Linked DNA regions of Homo sapiens: regions 2, 3, 4 and 5 are each linked to region 1. Evidence: promoter capture Hi-C in 16 types of primary human blood cells and fetal thymus (Javierre and others, 2016). All regions are on one chromosome and are shown on one strand. The core of a region is centred on a gene start or on the middle of the fragment in contact, and the rest is flanking DNA. Distances in the headings are between cores, read along the strand shown.

Evidence for each region. The method cuts DNA at HindIII sites, captures the fragments that hold promoters and counts their contacts. A CHiCAGO score of 5 or more calls a contact.
Region 2: a fragment that was not itself captured here is called in contact with the fragment with the promoter of ZBTB16 in region 1 in 1 of 17 cell types (total CD4 T cells); the score reaches 5.5 in total CD4 T cells.
Region 3: a contact is called between the fragment with the promoter of USP28 here and the fragment with the promoter of ZBTB16 in region 1, in 3 of 17 cell types (total B cells, erythroblasts and naive CD8 T cells). The highest score is 10.8, in total B cells.
Region 4: a contact is called between a fragment that was not itself captured here and the fragment with the promoter of ZBTB16 in region 1, in 5 of 17 cell types (monocytes, activated CD4 T cells, erythroblasts and 2 more). The highest score is 7.1, in monocytes.
Region 5: a fragment that was not itself captured here is called in contact with the fragment with the promoter of ZBTB16 in region 1 in 6 of 17 cell types (megakaryocytes, total B cells, erythroblasts and 3 more); the score reaches 13.7 in megakaryocytes.

The regions. Positions count from the first base shown.
Region 1 is chr11:114,058,170-114,061,229 of GRCh38, reverse strand. ZBTB16 (zinc finger and BTB domain containing 16) reads right to left here and starts at 1,519. Exons shown (of 7, transcript NM_006006.6): 1 at 1,348-1,519. RefSeq lists a silencer at 1,669-1,963. The HindIII fragment of the contact is 2,602 bases long and covers 1-2,492 here.
Region 2 is chr11:114,273,945-114,277,004 of GRCh38, reverse strand. It overlaps a transcript of NNMT not described here. Among named protein-coding and RNA genes, the nearest start is that of NNMT, 21 kb to the left of the region's middle. The HindIII fragment of the contact is 1,048 bases long and covers 1,083-2,130 here.
Region 3 is chr11:113,873,927-113,876,986 of GRCh38, reverse strand. USP28 (ubiquitin specific peptidase 28) reads left to right here and starts at 1,415. Exons shown (of 26, transcript NM_001346252.4): 1 at 1,415-1,542. The coding sequence starts at 1,486. RefSeq lists enhancers at 195-856, 907-1,156, 1,146-1,440, 3,027-3,060 and silencers at 1,177-1,336, 1,357-1,716. The HindIII fragment of the contact is 13,869 bases long and covers 1-3,060 here.
Region 4 is chr11:114,229,118-114,232,177 of GRCh38, reverse strand. All of the region lies in intron 4 of ZBTB16 (zinc finger and BTB domain containing 16), which reads right to left. Among named protein-coding and RNA genes, the nearest start is that of NNMT, 66 kb to the left of the region's middle. The HindIII fragment of the contact is 9,057 bases long and covers 1-3,060 here.
Region 5 is chr11:114,210,078-114,213,137 of GRCh38, reverse strand. All of the region lies in intron 4 of ZBTB16 (zinc finger and BTB domain containing 16), which reads right to left. Among named protein-coding and RNA genes, the nearest start is that of NNMT, 85 kb to the left of the region's middle. RefSeq lists enhancers at 1-121, 122-622. The HindIII fragment of the contact is 3,018 bases long and covers 111-3,060 here.

The sequences.
Region 1 (3,060 bases), core at 270-2,769:
GCGTCCAGCCAGGCGGCGCGGGGAAGAGCCGGCGATAACCCGCCCGAGCTCCGGGGATCGACCGCGCTCTCACACCCCCCCAGTTCCCAGCGACCCCCACCGAGACTTGGAGACGACTTCAGCAAACTTGGGGAAGCAACTTTTCCCGAGGAGCTAGACTCCTGAAAGAAGGAGAGCTGAGCTAGGGACGAGGGAAAGCGAAAGAGACGGGGAGGAACGGCGACAGTCCGGGCGGGCTGGACTCCGCGGCGAGAGCGGCAGGGGAGGCGGACCCGCCCCGCGGCGAAGGGGAAGCACAAAAGCCCCGCAGCGAGTTGTGGGAGGAAAGGCGAGAAGGGGTCTGCCCGCCCTCCCTCTCCGACCCAGGGCCGTGACCCCCTGGGAGCGACCGGCTGGGTCCCAGGCCTCTGGCCAGCGGCGCCAGCGGCCAGCGCGCCCGGCCCAAGCACGGTGCGAGCGTCTCGGGGAGGCGGCGAGCGAGTCGGTGCGGAGCGCTCCGTGCGTCCGGGTGGTTCCGCGGGCCGGCGGGACCGTGCGCATTTCAAGCGCGTGCGGGAGTGTGCGAGGCGCTGTGCGAGCTAGCGGCGGGCGCGCCAGGGTGGGAAAGGCATCCCGAACGCATCAGGTGCAGAGACCGGCACCCACCGAGAGCGGCCGGGAGCGCACGGCGAGCTCCGGTGTCACCGCCGGTCCCGCCGAGAGCCGAGGAGGGCCCGCAGCGCTGCAGACCCTCTGGAGCTTCCCTCCCTCCCCTGCAAAAGGGGGGTGGGGATCAAGTCCAATCAAGAAAAAGCCCACCACGTTTTCTCAAAGAGAAACAAAACGTAAGCAGTCCCAGTCCTGCTCCCCTCCGCCCCCAGATCTACTCGTCAGCTCCTCCGATTCTAGCTTCCCAGCCGGCCGGCGAATAAACACACAAATAAATAAACCACAACCTTATCTTGCGCCCGCGCACCGGTCCGCATACATAAGAGCACCCACGGGCTCTGTTGCTCCGCCAGCCCCTGGCGGTACAAAGCCTCCGGATCCCCGACCCCTCTGCTCACGCCCTCAGCCCCCGCACACCGCTACGCCCCCCACCTCTCACCCCGACCGTGCCCTGAAGAGGAAGGGCTGGGGAGGCAGCTGCGCCCAGGCTGACAGCCGGGGCTCCCCCTTCTAGCCGACCCCCAACCGGTGGCGGCGACGGCTGCAGCGGCAGGAAGGGAACACGCCAAATAAAAAAGGCACAAGCCCAGCGGCCGAGTGGCCGAAGCGAGCGCGCGCCCCCCAGACCTCTCCAGCCCCGGGAAGCCCCGGCGCGCGGCGCTCGCTGGGCGGTGCGCCTCTTCCCGGCCCCTCACTCACCGCAGCCGAGCCGGGCACTGTGGGGTGGGTGTGCGTGCCTGTCGGGGGGTGTGTGCCTGTGTCGGGGAGGGGTGTTGCTGGGGAACTGTTGCTCTCCGTATCACGGCGGCAGCGACAGCATCGCCCGGCAGTTCGCAGTACCCGCTCTCATCGCCCTCAACTCCTCTCTGCTGCGAGGTTAGCAAATCACCACCGGCTGCTGCGCCTCCGCCGCGTCCCACGTCAACGCCGAGCCCCCTCCCCTGCAAGGCCCCGGCGCCTCTCCATCTTTAGTGCTGGCGGCCGAGCCCGGCTCCCTGCCCACAGCTGCCCCCCTTCCCTCCCCCCTCCCGCGCCGTCCCCGGGCTCAGCCCGCCCACCACCCCGCACTGGCCGAGCCCGCGCGCGCTCCCCGCCCCACCCCTCCTTTCCCCTCCCCTCCCTTCCCCTCCCTTCCCCGCGCTCCGCGCTCCGGGCTTCGCCTGACATCTAGCTGCTGCTGGGGCGCCGGCGGCCGCCTCTCACCGGCCGAGCGGAGAGGAAGGAAGGAGCCAGAGGACAGGAGTGCATGGGGACTCAGAATCCTTAATAGGGGAACTGAGGGTGAAGGGCGCGCAGCAGCCCCCACCTACTCCCAAGATTTTAATTTGCACTGGATACGGGTTTTGTCCCCCCCTCCCCGCACCCCGGTGCTCAAGCACGCAGTTTTGTCTCCTCTTCCAATGTTTGCCCCAATTCAGTGCGTGTCATCTCGCCTTTAACTTTTTTCTCATGGCTCGGGGCTGCAGTCCCCCTGACATCTGTTTTAAAAGGCCGCTTTCCTAGCCCAAACCCGGCCCTCTCATCCTCCTGGTTACTGCGCGCCTCCCGGCTTGAGCATCCGGATTTCAATAAGTCTCCCGAGGCAGAGTTCGCGGGCGCTAGTGAACCAGGTGCCAGAAGGTCCGCGGGGATCTATTGTCGAAGCGAGACACCCGTTTTTAGCTGTCGCGATTGCTGGAGGCCAAGGTCGAGTCCTGGGAGAAACTTTTCTCTCTCCCAAACCTTGGACAGCCTCTCGGCTCTGCCCTCATCCTACCCCCCCGCCCCCCAGCAATCTGGGTGGAAACAGTTCCCGAGAACTGCGCCCAGCTCAGTGCACAGTCTTCAGGGGGCAGGGGGAAGCTTGGACAACCTCTGGGCCCCTCAAAAGTGTGTCCTCCTTCAGCTGGCCGCCCTACTTCAGAGGGTAGAGCAGCCAAAGAAAATGTACTCTTCCTCTGACTGCAGAAAGCTGCCCTCTCCCCTTTTCCCTGGAGCTGAGCGAAGGTAGGGTGCCAGAGGCGGGAAGCGCTCTTCGGGCACGGGCTGTGGATTCTGACCGAAGCCCAGGAGGTTGGGGTGGGAGGTGGGGGTGGCCGAGAGCGCCATCCAGGGTTCTCAGGCCAGTCAGCCCTCGAGGTCACGCGGTTTTAGCAATGCGGAGCTTATGTCACCAAGGCCTGAGTCTGCATGTTCTGTCCGTGACTCACGGGTGGGCCAGAGGTTTTCCGCAGGACTCACCTAGAATCACACCTCCATGCGTGCCTCTGGCACTGCCCCAGACCCAGTCCCATGAACTGTAGGGTCATGGAAGGTGGCAGAAATCTGTATCTGTTCGCTGAAGGCCAGGCGGTAGAGTTTACACATCGGAACTGATCCGGGTTCACAAGAGCCGCTCATGAGGCAGCCCCAAAGACGGGTCATTCCATCCCA
Region 2 (3,060 bases), core at 357-2,856, 220 kb before region 1:
TGATCCACCCGCCTCAGCCTCTCAAAGTGTTGGGATTACAGGCGTGAGCCACTGCACCTGGCAATTATTTCCATTTCAGAGATGAGGAAACTGAGGCTCTGAGATGTTAGTGACCCACCAAAGGTCACAGAGCAAGTAAGTCAGAGAGCCAAAGAGGAAAAGCCATGTCTCCTGATGCGGAAACCTCTGTTCTTCTCATTTCATGGGGTAGGGCTGCAGTATTCGCAGGGGTGAGGATGGAGGTGCTGAATGGGCTCAGAAGTTGTGTGGTGACAAATGGCCTAAACTAGGAGATCATGGGGGGCTCTCCCCTCTTCTCTCTATGCAACCCTGCAGAGCCCTTGAAACAAGAAGAAGCACAGCTTTATTTCTCTGGTCTAATTCTTTCTCTCCCTCCCTGGGCCATGAGTGGAGCATATTATAAACCTCTCTGTTTGAGATCAACATTCCTATTTACCTGGCAATCATGTATAATAAGACTCTAAAAGCATTTGCTGGTAAGGTTTCTAAATAAAACAGACTAAACGAAGAGGAAAGCAAATGAGGTAGCAGGATGGCATCTGGAAATCCTGCCCCTGTGCACTCCTAGCTCCTACCAAGTCTGCTGCATCAGTCCCTTCGCCGGGCCACAGAGAACATCTCTGGGTCAACTGGGCAGTCGTGGAAGTGGCTCTCAGCTGCCTGCTGAGCCTTCTCCAACTTCTCCAAATCCAAGCCTGTCTCCTGCAGGGGCTCCTGCAGAAATTCCTCTCTAGGGGCAGTGTGGAGAACCTCTTGTCCCCCACCATGTAGACACTGGTCTCAAAGCCTCTGCTTGCAGCATACGGTCCCTGGGTTGAAGCAGGGTCCCAAGTTGGCACAAGGTGCCTTGGCAGGTACCCAGGGTGGGTGGGGGGGCAGCCTGAAACCACAGGGAGAAAACGAGGCAGTCGGCCAGGGGCAGGACTGCAGGTTTCAGAGGCCATTCTTTCCAAATGTCACATGTAAGCACATTTGAGTCGCTTTCCTTAAACACTCCTCCTTTTCAGCCCACTTCTCTCTGGAAAGAAGGAAATGGAAAGAGTGGCCAGCTGGGTCAAGCTTACCTCATGGGACATATAGATCACTCCTGGTCATTTTCTGCATCTCATACACACACTTGCAGGATAACAGAATATTCTAACCCTAATCTTAACTGTAACCCTACCCCTAACATATACACAACTCACAGGATATCAGAATATTCAAATCCTAACCCTAACCATAACCATAACCCCTATACACTCACAAGATATCAGAATATTCTAACCCTAACCCTAAACCCATACACACACTCGCAAGATATCAGAATATTCTAACACAAAACCTAACCATAACCCTAACCCCAAGCCATACACACACTCACAGAATCTCAGAATATCAGAATCAGGTCACTCCTTTTACAGATGAAGACACTGAGTCCTGGAGATGCAGTCATGACATCAGCTATTGGCACGGGCAAGCCTAGGGACCGCCAACCCTGCAGTCAGTGCTCTTTCCACTTGCCGGCTGTCTCTGCAATGTGCTTCTGACAATCAGCCCATTCTTTCTCTGCCTGGTCCATGACTTAAAACAAGTCAGCCAAGTGCAAAGGGAAATGGAAAGTCTGCCTGGAACCAGCAGAGCAAAACTATTAATACAAAGTGAGCTTGGTAGATGTTGTTGAGGACATCCAGTACCTCCATCATCTTTCCCTTCCAGTGGCTCCTGGCTACACACTCCACTCAGTTGTCACATTCTCTTCTTAAATACCTAGTATAGGCTATGAGGCTCATTCATACTGAGGTATGAATAAGGACTAGCACTTAAAGGGTTACTCTTTACAGCTCTTCAATAGTGTATTACAAATGTTATTGTCTTAAGCAAAATGAAGAAGGACCTAATGAACAACTTCAACCTTCTTACTTAACTAGGATGTGGGGTATTTTGGGAGTGAAGATGCTATGGAGAACTTTCCTGGTGCCTGAAATTACGCAAGGTAAGTAAATTCTATTCTGCCTCAAAGTTAGATTGGTCTTAATTCCATTCCCAACTCCAATCCCAGCGATGGCCTTCTCTGTGTTTCCCTGTTCCCAGCAGTGAGAGGTCACCTCAGGAGACCCACAGAAAGCTTCCACAGGTTTAGGGTCAAAAGTCTGGAGGTTGCAATTGGAACAACAGGAACACTGACCAGTCAGAACGGTTGCCTGCCATCAAAAGCCAGCTGACTGTCATCCTGCCTGTTATGCATATGCTTGGGCTCAGATCTTGGCATCTGGGACAGTTTCTTTCTGGCTCCAGGCTTGTCTCTAGCCATCTACTTTGGTTCCCTCCTTGGGGCTTTATAGAACTCACTCTTCCTTTCTTCTTCCTGCAGTTCCACTGACATCCTTCTTTCTTAGTCTCCATCTTTCTTGCCATTTCTACATGAGCCCCACAGAAAATTCTTAGTTCAGAGAGCCACGTGAAGCTCTGGCATCCTCAAGGTGCAAAAACAAACACCGAACTCCTTGCCTAATCCCTTCAAGCTCACATACATATTTTACCACTGGAGACCAGTCAAATGACTGCAGCCTCTGTCTCTGCTACCTGTTCAGCTCCAGGACATTCTTGTCCATGTAGTTGGAGGCAATGGTCTCCTAGAAAGACTCACAGGCAGAGAGGAGCTGATAATGGTGGCCTCAGGGCCAATGCCAATTAGTCACTTTCCTATCAGCCCACCTGTTTTAGAACAAGAATATTTCTAAATCGTCAGTATCGAAGCATGGCTCTGAGGTCCACCTTTCCCAAAAGGTTCTACTTTCTCTAGACTTCTTAGAGAGACACGTTTGTTTGGGGTGTAGAGAGTCAACCACTTGGGAATGCAGACTCTAAGATTTGGAATTTTATCTGCACTAACAGCCTTAGACATGACTGAGCACAGTCCCCAGCACTGAGCAGGGGTAGGAGGGGAGTGTTAGGAGCAGGAAGGCACTGAGGGGTGTGGCAGCAACTAGTAGAGAACAAGCTTTGTCACTTCAACTGCCAATTGACCACTGTAAATTACCTGTTCAGAGATAACTG
Region 3 (3,060 bases), core at 166-2,665, 180 kb after region 1:
GCAGGAGTCCTAGTTCAGGCCTCAGAGAGTAATCTGGCCTCTCCTGGGAGCTGCACCTGACCTGTACCTGTTTCCTTTTGTCAAAAACTGCGCCCGCATGCAGACTAGGGAGGCCTGCAGGTGAAACATAACAATCCCAGCGACAACAATGCCAGGAGTATAGGAAAGGCCACCGTCCATGTTAAATTCACACTTAAAAGTGTAGCTTGAGAGTCAGACCAGACCAGGGCAAGGGTGTAGGTGCTACTCTTAAAAGACGCGCTTCCACACTCAGCCTCTACGCAGATTTGGGACACCCAGCAGCCTGTCAAGTGGGTTTGCCATCATAACACATTTGTATCTTAAATGTGAAACATGGTTCAGTAATCACAATTCCCACACAGTTGTTGAAAATACAATTCAGGCCTGGCGCGGTGGCTCACGCCTATAATCCCAGCATTATGGAAGGCCGAGACGGGCGGATCACCTGAGGTCAGGAATTCGAGGCCAGCCTGGGCAACATGGTGAAACCCTGGGTGTGGTACAGCGTGCCTGTAATCCCAGCTACTCAGGAGAATCGCTTGAACCCAGGAGGCGGAAGTTGCAGTGAGCCGAGACCGTGCGGCTGCACTCCAGCTTGAGGGGACAGAGTGAGACTCCGTCTCAAAAAAAAAGAAAAAAAAAAAAACAAACCGAAACCAACCAAACAAAAAACAATTCAATAGGAGCACCTGGTCTTTTAACATGAAATCGTAAATATCTGGCTCAAACGTAACAAAGTAACACAAAATTTTAGTTTGAACTTCTGAAAATCGAAAATGGAAAAACTGCAATTTTCCTTATCATGCCCAGGTTAAGAGCATCAGGGTTAAGGGCACCAAGCGGGACACCCATGAACGGAGGCTTTGGTCCGTTTGGTTAGCTTTAGACAAGCGACTGCATTCATCCTCCTTCTCTCCTTAAAGATGGTGAACACTTCTTCATGTCATTGGAGTTGGAAATGGCTACAAAGCCTGATGGGAAATCCTTTATTCCACGGTCATTCGGCAGTTTCCCACGGCGGGGGAACAGTTTTAACTCGCCCGTGGGGAGGGTGGAGCCGGAGGTCAGTCCTACAAATGAGGTTTTGAGGGCAGAGAGCGGAGAAGACTCAGGAACGCGGCTCCCAGGATTCGCAAACCCAGTTCCCGGACACTGGCAGCGCGGCCCGCAGCCTCCACCGGCTGTGAAGCTGACCAACAGCGACAGGCGGGGCCGGGATCACGTGACCGACGTCTGGTCAGCCGGGCGTGCGCGGGAGCACGCAGAACTGTTCGGCCCCGGGCCGCGCGCCTTGCGTGCGCGCGCATGCCGGGGGCGGGGCATGTGGGCCAAGCCTCCGGCGCGCGCTGCGGGCGGGGGCGGGACGGAGCGGGGTGGAGGGCGGGGGCGGGGCCTAGTCCTGAGAGGCTGGGCCGGCGGCGGCTGCGGCGGGAGACCGGTGACCCGCGGCTGGGCGCCTCGGCCATGACTGCGGAGCTGCAGCAGGACGACGCGGCCGGCGCGGCAGACGGCCACGGCTCGGTGGGCTCCGCGGCGGCGAGCGGGAGCTGGGGGCGGGCTCCAGGCCCTGAGGGGAGCGTGCGGGGCCTGCAGGGCTGCGGGTTGCGGGCTGCGGAGGGCGCCCCGGCCGGGCGGGACAGGGGGTGCGCCCGCCAGCGTGGGTGAGAAGGCCAAGGGCTCTGCGGGGCTCGGGCCGCGGAGATTGAGGACTGCATCTTCGCGTCCGTGGGCGAGCTGAAGTTGTAGGGGGATTTCCAGATTTTGGAAAACCAAATATAAAGGGCTGGACGTGGGGTTCTCCGCCGCAGGGATCAGTAAGGTGAGCCCTCCTGGGCCCCGTCCGGGGTGAGAAACTTCCGAAAGCGGCAGCGTTGGTTGGTTTTGTTTTGCTTTGACTTTTAAATCAGTTTTATGGCGGCGTTTTTAAAAGGTTAAAGCAGACCGAAGTTATCTCACTTAAAGTCCGGAATTAATCACCGTCTTCTATAAGACCAGGGGTCCCAGTTACCACCACTTCCCTCCCTCCCAACCCGGCTTTAAAAACAAAACAGCGCAGCCTCCCCAATTATTGCCTTCATCGCTCTAGATTTTTAAGGAGGGGGAGGAGCTGCGTGATGAATAGAAAGTCTACTGATGATGATCTCCTGTTCCCAATGTCTAAGAAGATTGAAATCAATATAAGGACTTCTGATCTAAGAATCTGGTGAGAGTGAAAGAACCCTGGTTTGAGAGAAAAGCTAATGTCTGTATGAAGAAACTTGGGAAGAGGGCAATTTGAGCATGTCTTCTAGTGTTACTTCGGAATGTTATAACTTAACACCACCTCCTCACCCCTCAAGTACTGCACTTTTTCAAGAGAAAACGGGAAATCTGTGCCAGTTGTTCAAATACGAGTTTGGAGATGAGAAACTATATTTGTCGTACAAAGCTGGCAGACAGATACCCTCAGGTGAGAATCCTTTTATACCTTTTTACTCTTTTGTCTGGAAGGCCAGTAGTATTTAGCATGGAGACACTTTTTTTTTTTTTTTTTTTTTTTTTTCGACAGAGTCTCCCTCTGTTGCCTAGGCTGGAGTGCTGTGGCGCGATGTCGGCTCACTGCATCCTCCGCCTCACCCTCCTGAGTAGCTGGTATTACAGGTGCTTGCCACCGGCCCGGCTAATTTTTGTATTTTTAGTAGAGTCGGGGTTTCACCATATTGGTCAGGCTGGTCTCAAACTCCCGACTTAAGGTGATTCGCCCGCCTCGGCCTTCCAGAGTGCTGGGATTACAGGCGTGAGCCACCGCGCCCAGTCTGGACGCACTTTTTTTTTTTTTTTTTTTCCAGACGGAGTCTCACTTTGTCGCCCAGGCTGGGGTGCAGTGGCGCGATCTCGGCTCACTGCAACTTCCGTCTCCCGGGTTCAAGCGATTCTCCTGCCTCAGCCTCCCGAGTAGCTGGGACTACAGGCGCGTGCCACCACGCCCAGCTAATTTTTGTATTTTTAGTAGAGATGGGATTTCACTGTGTTGGCCAGGATGGTCTCGGTCTCTTGACC
Region 4 (3,060 bases), core at 323-2,822, 170 kb before region 1:
CCTTGGTCTCGAATTCAGCTGATCTTAGAGGCTTCCAGGAAAAGAAGCCCCAAAGCGGGTGGGGGAACATCGGGACGGAGCATGAAAGGGCAGGCCAGGATCTTCACATCCCAGCCATCCTCTTGCCCTCACGTGGCTTTTTACTGCAGACTCCCAACTGAACAGGAACAAGAGTACAAAACCTGGCCTCAAGTCCTGGCTCAGTGACTAACTCGCTGTGCACTCCTGGGTGGGTTACTAGACCTTTCTGGGCCTCAGTTTCCTCAACAGTAAAATGAAGAGGGATATAAGTGATCCTTAAAGGGTTTTTCTCCACTCTAATATTCAACAATTCTATTGAAGAGGGTGCTGGCAGGTTGAATGGTCCTTTCTCCCACTGAGATGGACGTCAGCATTTTCTCTTTCAAAGTCAGACTTCACAGCCTTCTTTTAGCTAAAGAGAATCTCTTTAACTAAAAGGAACCACATTCTTAGGCTGACAGAGGGACAGTCACAGACAAGGCAAAGAAAGGATCCAACATTGACTGGGCACCTGCTGGGTGCCAATCTAGGTTCAACCTTTCTCAAGCAGCACTGTGAGATGGGGATTTTTAGGAAGATGGGAAAATTTCACAGGACTTGAGAGAACCTCTAGGTCCCTTTTCTAGGGGACTACCAGTTAGCAGCTTAAGACCTCCTAGAACTGGCTGAACACTCACAGAGGCAATTATTGAGTAGCTGGGTCTGAGAGTACCTGAAGCCTCTCTGTGCCAGGTGAGGGCTGAGCAGTTGGGGTGGGGAATATGGAGGGGGAGCTTTCTCTCCCAAGCCCCCAGCAGCAGAATGATAGAGAAGACCCCCAAGAAAGCCCATATAGAGAGCAAGTCAGAGAACCAGACCCTCTGAATCTAGCAGTTTCATTACAAGAGCACAGTGTCCAACACATAGTAGGCATTTACATTCTGGCTGTGTGTCCAGAGCTTCACGGGAGGCACGGAGTTTCCACGTGAAGGTAAGACCCAATTTCCTTGTCTGAACAATAAGTTATCCCCAGGACTCTTTCATCTCCAGTATACTTCACATGTAAAAGATGCTTTCTATAGATGGTCACTCTCTCTAGTTTCAGACATTCCCAAAGTCATCCTGAGGCCCCTGCAGAGAAACTGCAGCCCAGGAGTAGGTTCTCTGGGGGAAAAAAACCCAAAAACCTCAGCTAGGCTCTCATGTAAAATTTCCAGTAAACCCCAATGTATTCCAGAGATAGGGAGGTGGAGGCAGAGGCAGGAGGCAGGAGGAGACCCAGACAGAAAAGAGAGAGAGACAGAGGCAAGACAAAGGCCCAGGGAGACAGAATGGAGTGGGGAGGGGAGCAGGGGTTGGGCGAGACAGAAATTCAAAATAAAACGAAATACTGATTGTTTCAGCGCCATTTAAATATCTCCCAAACACTGGGCAATGAAAAGAAAAACTACCCCATATAAATAAGCAAAACAAAATAACAAAAAAGGAGAGGATGTATTCATTTTACTGACATTTTAATGGCTCCTCTCCTTCCCGCCCCCCCCCCACAGAAGATGATTACAAATTAAGCAGCATTTAAATGCTTTTTACTGTCAACAATTAAAAGGAGGGCTGTGGGCCTGAGAGTGTGGTGGCCATTCATTCCCACGGTAACCAGGCTATCAATATCAGAGACACCATGCGGCCTTCCCGTACTGTACGGCACACAATAGCCAAAAAGGGAAAAGTGCAGACAGATACTGTTAATTCTGCAGGACATTCAGAAGCAAATTAAAATATAAAAAAGCTCCCAGAGCATACATAGATACCAAGAATGAGGGCAGGGCAGGTCGAGCTCATGGAGTTGGTCTTAGCAACGGCAGAATGTACGCACAGCCTGATTACACCTGATTCAGGGCTCCTTGCGTTTGTTTCATGTACCTGCATGTGTGTGCATGTGTGTGTTGCACATGCACGTGCACATTACAGGAAGGACCAAGGACAGAGGTTGTTTTGCCTTCCTAGGGTCAGAGGAATAAACAATAAATCGAGCCCAGGAGCTCTACGTCAGACCCAGAACCAGCCAGGGAGTAGAAAGAGGACACACCCACTGCCCCAACCTGGGCTTCAACCGAGAGGGCGGGACCACCAACGTTCACCCTTCCAACACCTGCCCCACGGCCTTCTCCGCTGGGCCACAGGTAGAAATCAGGTGATTCTGATTTCACTGCGTTCAGAGGAAGGGATTTCATCATTCCAGGTGAACCAAAGGAACACATTTGATTTTTCAGAAATTGACTCTTTTTTCACAATTCAAACTATCATTACCAATTCATGCCCAACCCCTGCCTGCCCCGGCCCAATACCACCCATCTTCACATCCTTCTAAAAAGCTAAAACCCAGTCTGTGTTAGGTCCTGGTAAATTCTGTTGCCAGAACTCTCTTTTAGCTAACTCAATATAGTTTCTAAGCATCCATGTCATCACAGGTATCTTTGAAAATAATGGAATAATGAAAAGCCAATTCCAGAATAAAGAGGAAGAAAAGAAAAGGGTTAAAAAGATAAAGGAGCAGAGAACGTAGCTACGAATTTCCTTTCCAGTCCTTCAGAGAAGGAGACAGAAATCACAGAAAGTGAGAGTGGGCTACCAGGTAGAGGGTGAGAGGCTGGATTTAGAAGCAGCCGGGTATACTTCTGTACCGTAAAGTTTAATATGCAGGAGGGATGACAGAGAAATAAAAGAGACACGTCCCCTTTAAAAGGAAATATAATTTACAGTGTGCAGCCAGGCGGCCCATAGTTTCAATCTCGTTTACTATAGAGAAAACTCTGCTAGCTGTTCTCTATCCCACAAATCCGATTTAATCAGACAAGCCAGCCAGCGTGGCTTGGAGTAAAAACGGATAATTAGTAAACAGAGAGCTACTCCAGTGCTTCATTGGCATTCGAGTTGGGCTACTGTGTCGCATTTAAAATGCAGTCTGATGAAGTTTACAAAATCAAACCATTTGTTACTCCTATTGAAGAGGCTTCAGGCCACTCGCAATTAAATTGGAATTAGTGCCCAGAATGAGACACA
Region 5 (3,060 bases), core at 370-2,869, 150 kb before region 1:
CCATGGTGGAGCAGCACAGTGGACTGAGGTGTCCTGGCCAGTCACAGCTCTGGATGGCCCCCTGTGGGCACACAGGGGGTCGGGGGGATGGGGGAACAGACAGACAAGCTTCCATGGGTGGGCCACTCCTGAGCCACAGAAGGAAGAAACAAAGTCAGCTGTTCAGAAGGATGTCCAGACCATCCAGTGATGAAGGTTGAGGGAGGGGTGCCGGCATTTTCTACCAAGCAGAAAACATAGAGACTTCCTCTGCAGATTTTTAGAAAAGGGACCCACAGCAATTCCTCCGGCACACGTGAGCACGGACTGCCTGCTCCGAGGCAGGCGATGGGGGATGGGGGGATAAGCCAGGTGGTCCCTCAGGGATGCTTCCAGCCCAAGGAATTTAAGGGTGGTTCCCAAGTCTCAAACATCCAGGACTGAACGACAGCAAAGGTATCATTACATTTATCTTCACTTGGCATCCAAAGCAGCTTCGGGAAGCAACCTGGCATGCTCAAAGGAGCACTAGGAAATACAGAGAATCAGAGCCCAGTGCCTGACTCCGCAACTGTGTAGCTGTGTGACTCTATAGCGAAGTCTTTTCACCTGTCAAGGCTCAGTTTCTTCATCTATAACAGGAGAAAATTGGAGCAGAGAATCCCCAAGTCCCTTTCTAAATTTGTGTGGCTATGTTAAAGGAGAAGAATGACCTCTTCCCTTCCTGCTTTCCCAAGCAGGGTCCACACCAGACAGGAGTGGACAAGAACTCCAGGAAACTTTGAAAATGCCTGGGGGAGGGGGAGAGGCACAACAAAGCCCCTTACTTTCTTTCTTTCTTTCTTTCAAAGTCACTCCCAGCTTCTTGGGACACAAAAGTATCTGTTAAGGTAAGTTAAACCTTCTCAAGATGAATTTTCCTGCGACTTTTAATTAAAAGTTCTTTAGAATTTAAAGAACACTATTCAGAAAAGGCTGAAAAAAAAATTTCATTGACACTCCCCCCTCCCCATCCCCCCTTTCCCAAGGAAAAGAAAAAGCTGTTTTGTGCACAGCTCGCCCGGTCCACACTGTACAAAAGGAGGTGGGCTGGCGGCAAGACACATGAGATGACCCTTTGACCCCAGACCGCTGACAAGTCCTCAATGGCATAAATACCAGATAATCAATCACATGCCAGGAGGGCGAGTCCCCCTGCCCTCGCCCCAGCGTTGGGGTTTATGAGAGATACACTGTAAATAGACACTGGCTTCTTAAAAGAGGCCCCCCTCAGCATTCCAGGGGCCGGCCATAATCCCGAACCAGGCCTGGCCAGATCCTTGACCATCTCGTTTTACAGCTTTCATCGCGAGCTTATAAAGCGCTCTGCCCTCCCAATCCCCCACTGCAAGCTGGCCTTCCTGGTATGAAATGAAGTCAAACTCCCCACTGCGAACGCAAACGGGGACTCTGAAAATCACTGCAAAGAAGGTGAGGGCAGAGGACAAGCAGGAAATGGGGCGGGTCGCCAATAACACCCCAATGCGGGGGAGGGGGAAGGGAGCCAACCAGGACCTGGGGAAGTGACGAAGAATCAATAAGGATGATACTGATGACAATGGTAACAACTGTGGTAACAGTAGTTAGCACTGGCTCAACACTTAGTAAGCACCAAACCCCACAGTAAGCACTTCATGTGTATCCTGTTATCTATCCTCAAAAATAACTCTAGGAGGCGGGCACTATTATTGCTATGCCCATTTTACAGATAAGGAAGGTAGGTGGGGGGCTCAGAGTTCAAATAATTTGTCCAAGGCCACAGTGACAGTTAATGACAGGGAAGATGAGATTTAAACCCACAGAAATGGCTCAGGTCTAGATATACCTCCACCCCACACCACCAAGTCTATGGATTTCTGCCTGGAAGGAGAAGAAGGTAGAAATCAATCTGCACTTTTAGGTCACTCACTTGGCTCATGCCTGTAATCCCAGCACTCTGGGAGGCCAAGGAGGGTGGATGAACTGAGGTCAGGAGTTTGAGACCAGCCTGGCCAAAATGGTGAAACCACTGTCTCTACTAAAAATAGAAAAATTAGCTAGGGGTGGTGGTGCACACCTGTAATAATCCCAGCTACTCGGGAGGCTGAGGCAGGAGAATCGCTTGAACCCAGGAGGCGGAGGTTGCAGTGAGCCGAGATCAAGACACTGCACTCCAGCCTGGCGACAGAGTGAGACTCCATCTTTAAAACAAAACAAAAAAAAAATCAACATATCATCTGAATAGTTAAATCTCCAAGACAGCCAGAAACTAGGCTAGTTTCAGAGGAGAAAGAGTTTTTACATCCAACTCACAAATTTTGAACCCCACTGTGGTATAAGATTCTCATCTCTGTCCTTTAACCCACCTTAGACCCCAAGAGCCCTGGCAGTGAACACCAGGCCTGGGATGTCTCTAAGGTAATGATGGCCTTCCAAAATTTTGCTCTTGCTCTGGGAAGTTTACCAAGATTCTAAACTAGCCCCGGCAAACAGGGAAGTGGGGGTGAGGAGAAGAAGACAGACGCTCTTGGTAAATAATTTTGATAATGCTTTTGTTTCAGGGTCAAAGGTTAAATATGGCCACACTAATCCGCTTCTTCCAAAATTAAAGCACAAGGGAGATTTTTCTGTAGCTTAGCAAGAGGGCTTTTTCTCATTGCTGGGGAAATGGTACTGATCCCGCCCACTGAACGGGGATGCTCGGCTGTTGCAGACAGAGATTTGTGCTAATTTGGACAGAACATCCCAGCTCCTGGCTGCAGGGTTAGAGTTATTTATTATTAAGACCAAAGTGAAAGAAATGCAAGGTGATTCTTAAAAATTTTAATAGTCCCTCTGTCCCACCCCACCGGCTTTTGAATAATGCTTCCTGAAATGTCCTAGAAAGGAGAGAGGAGAGTAAATGCTTGGGAACCCGACACTCACAAACTGTGCACGCGCGCGCACGCACACACACACACACACACACACACACACACTAGCTTTGGCTGTAAGAGAAAACATTAATGATCAACCCGCACATTTGCAATGTTTCACAGAGTGCAGAGTACACCTCCTTCATCT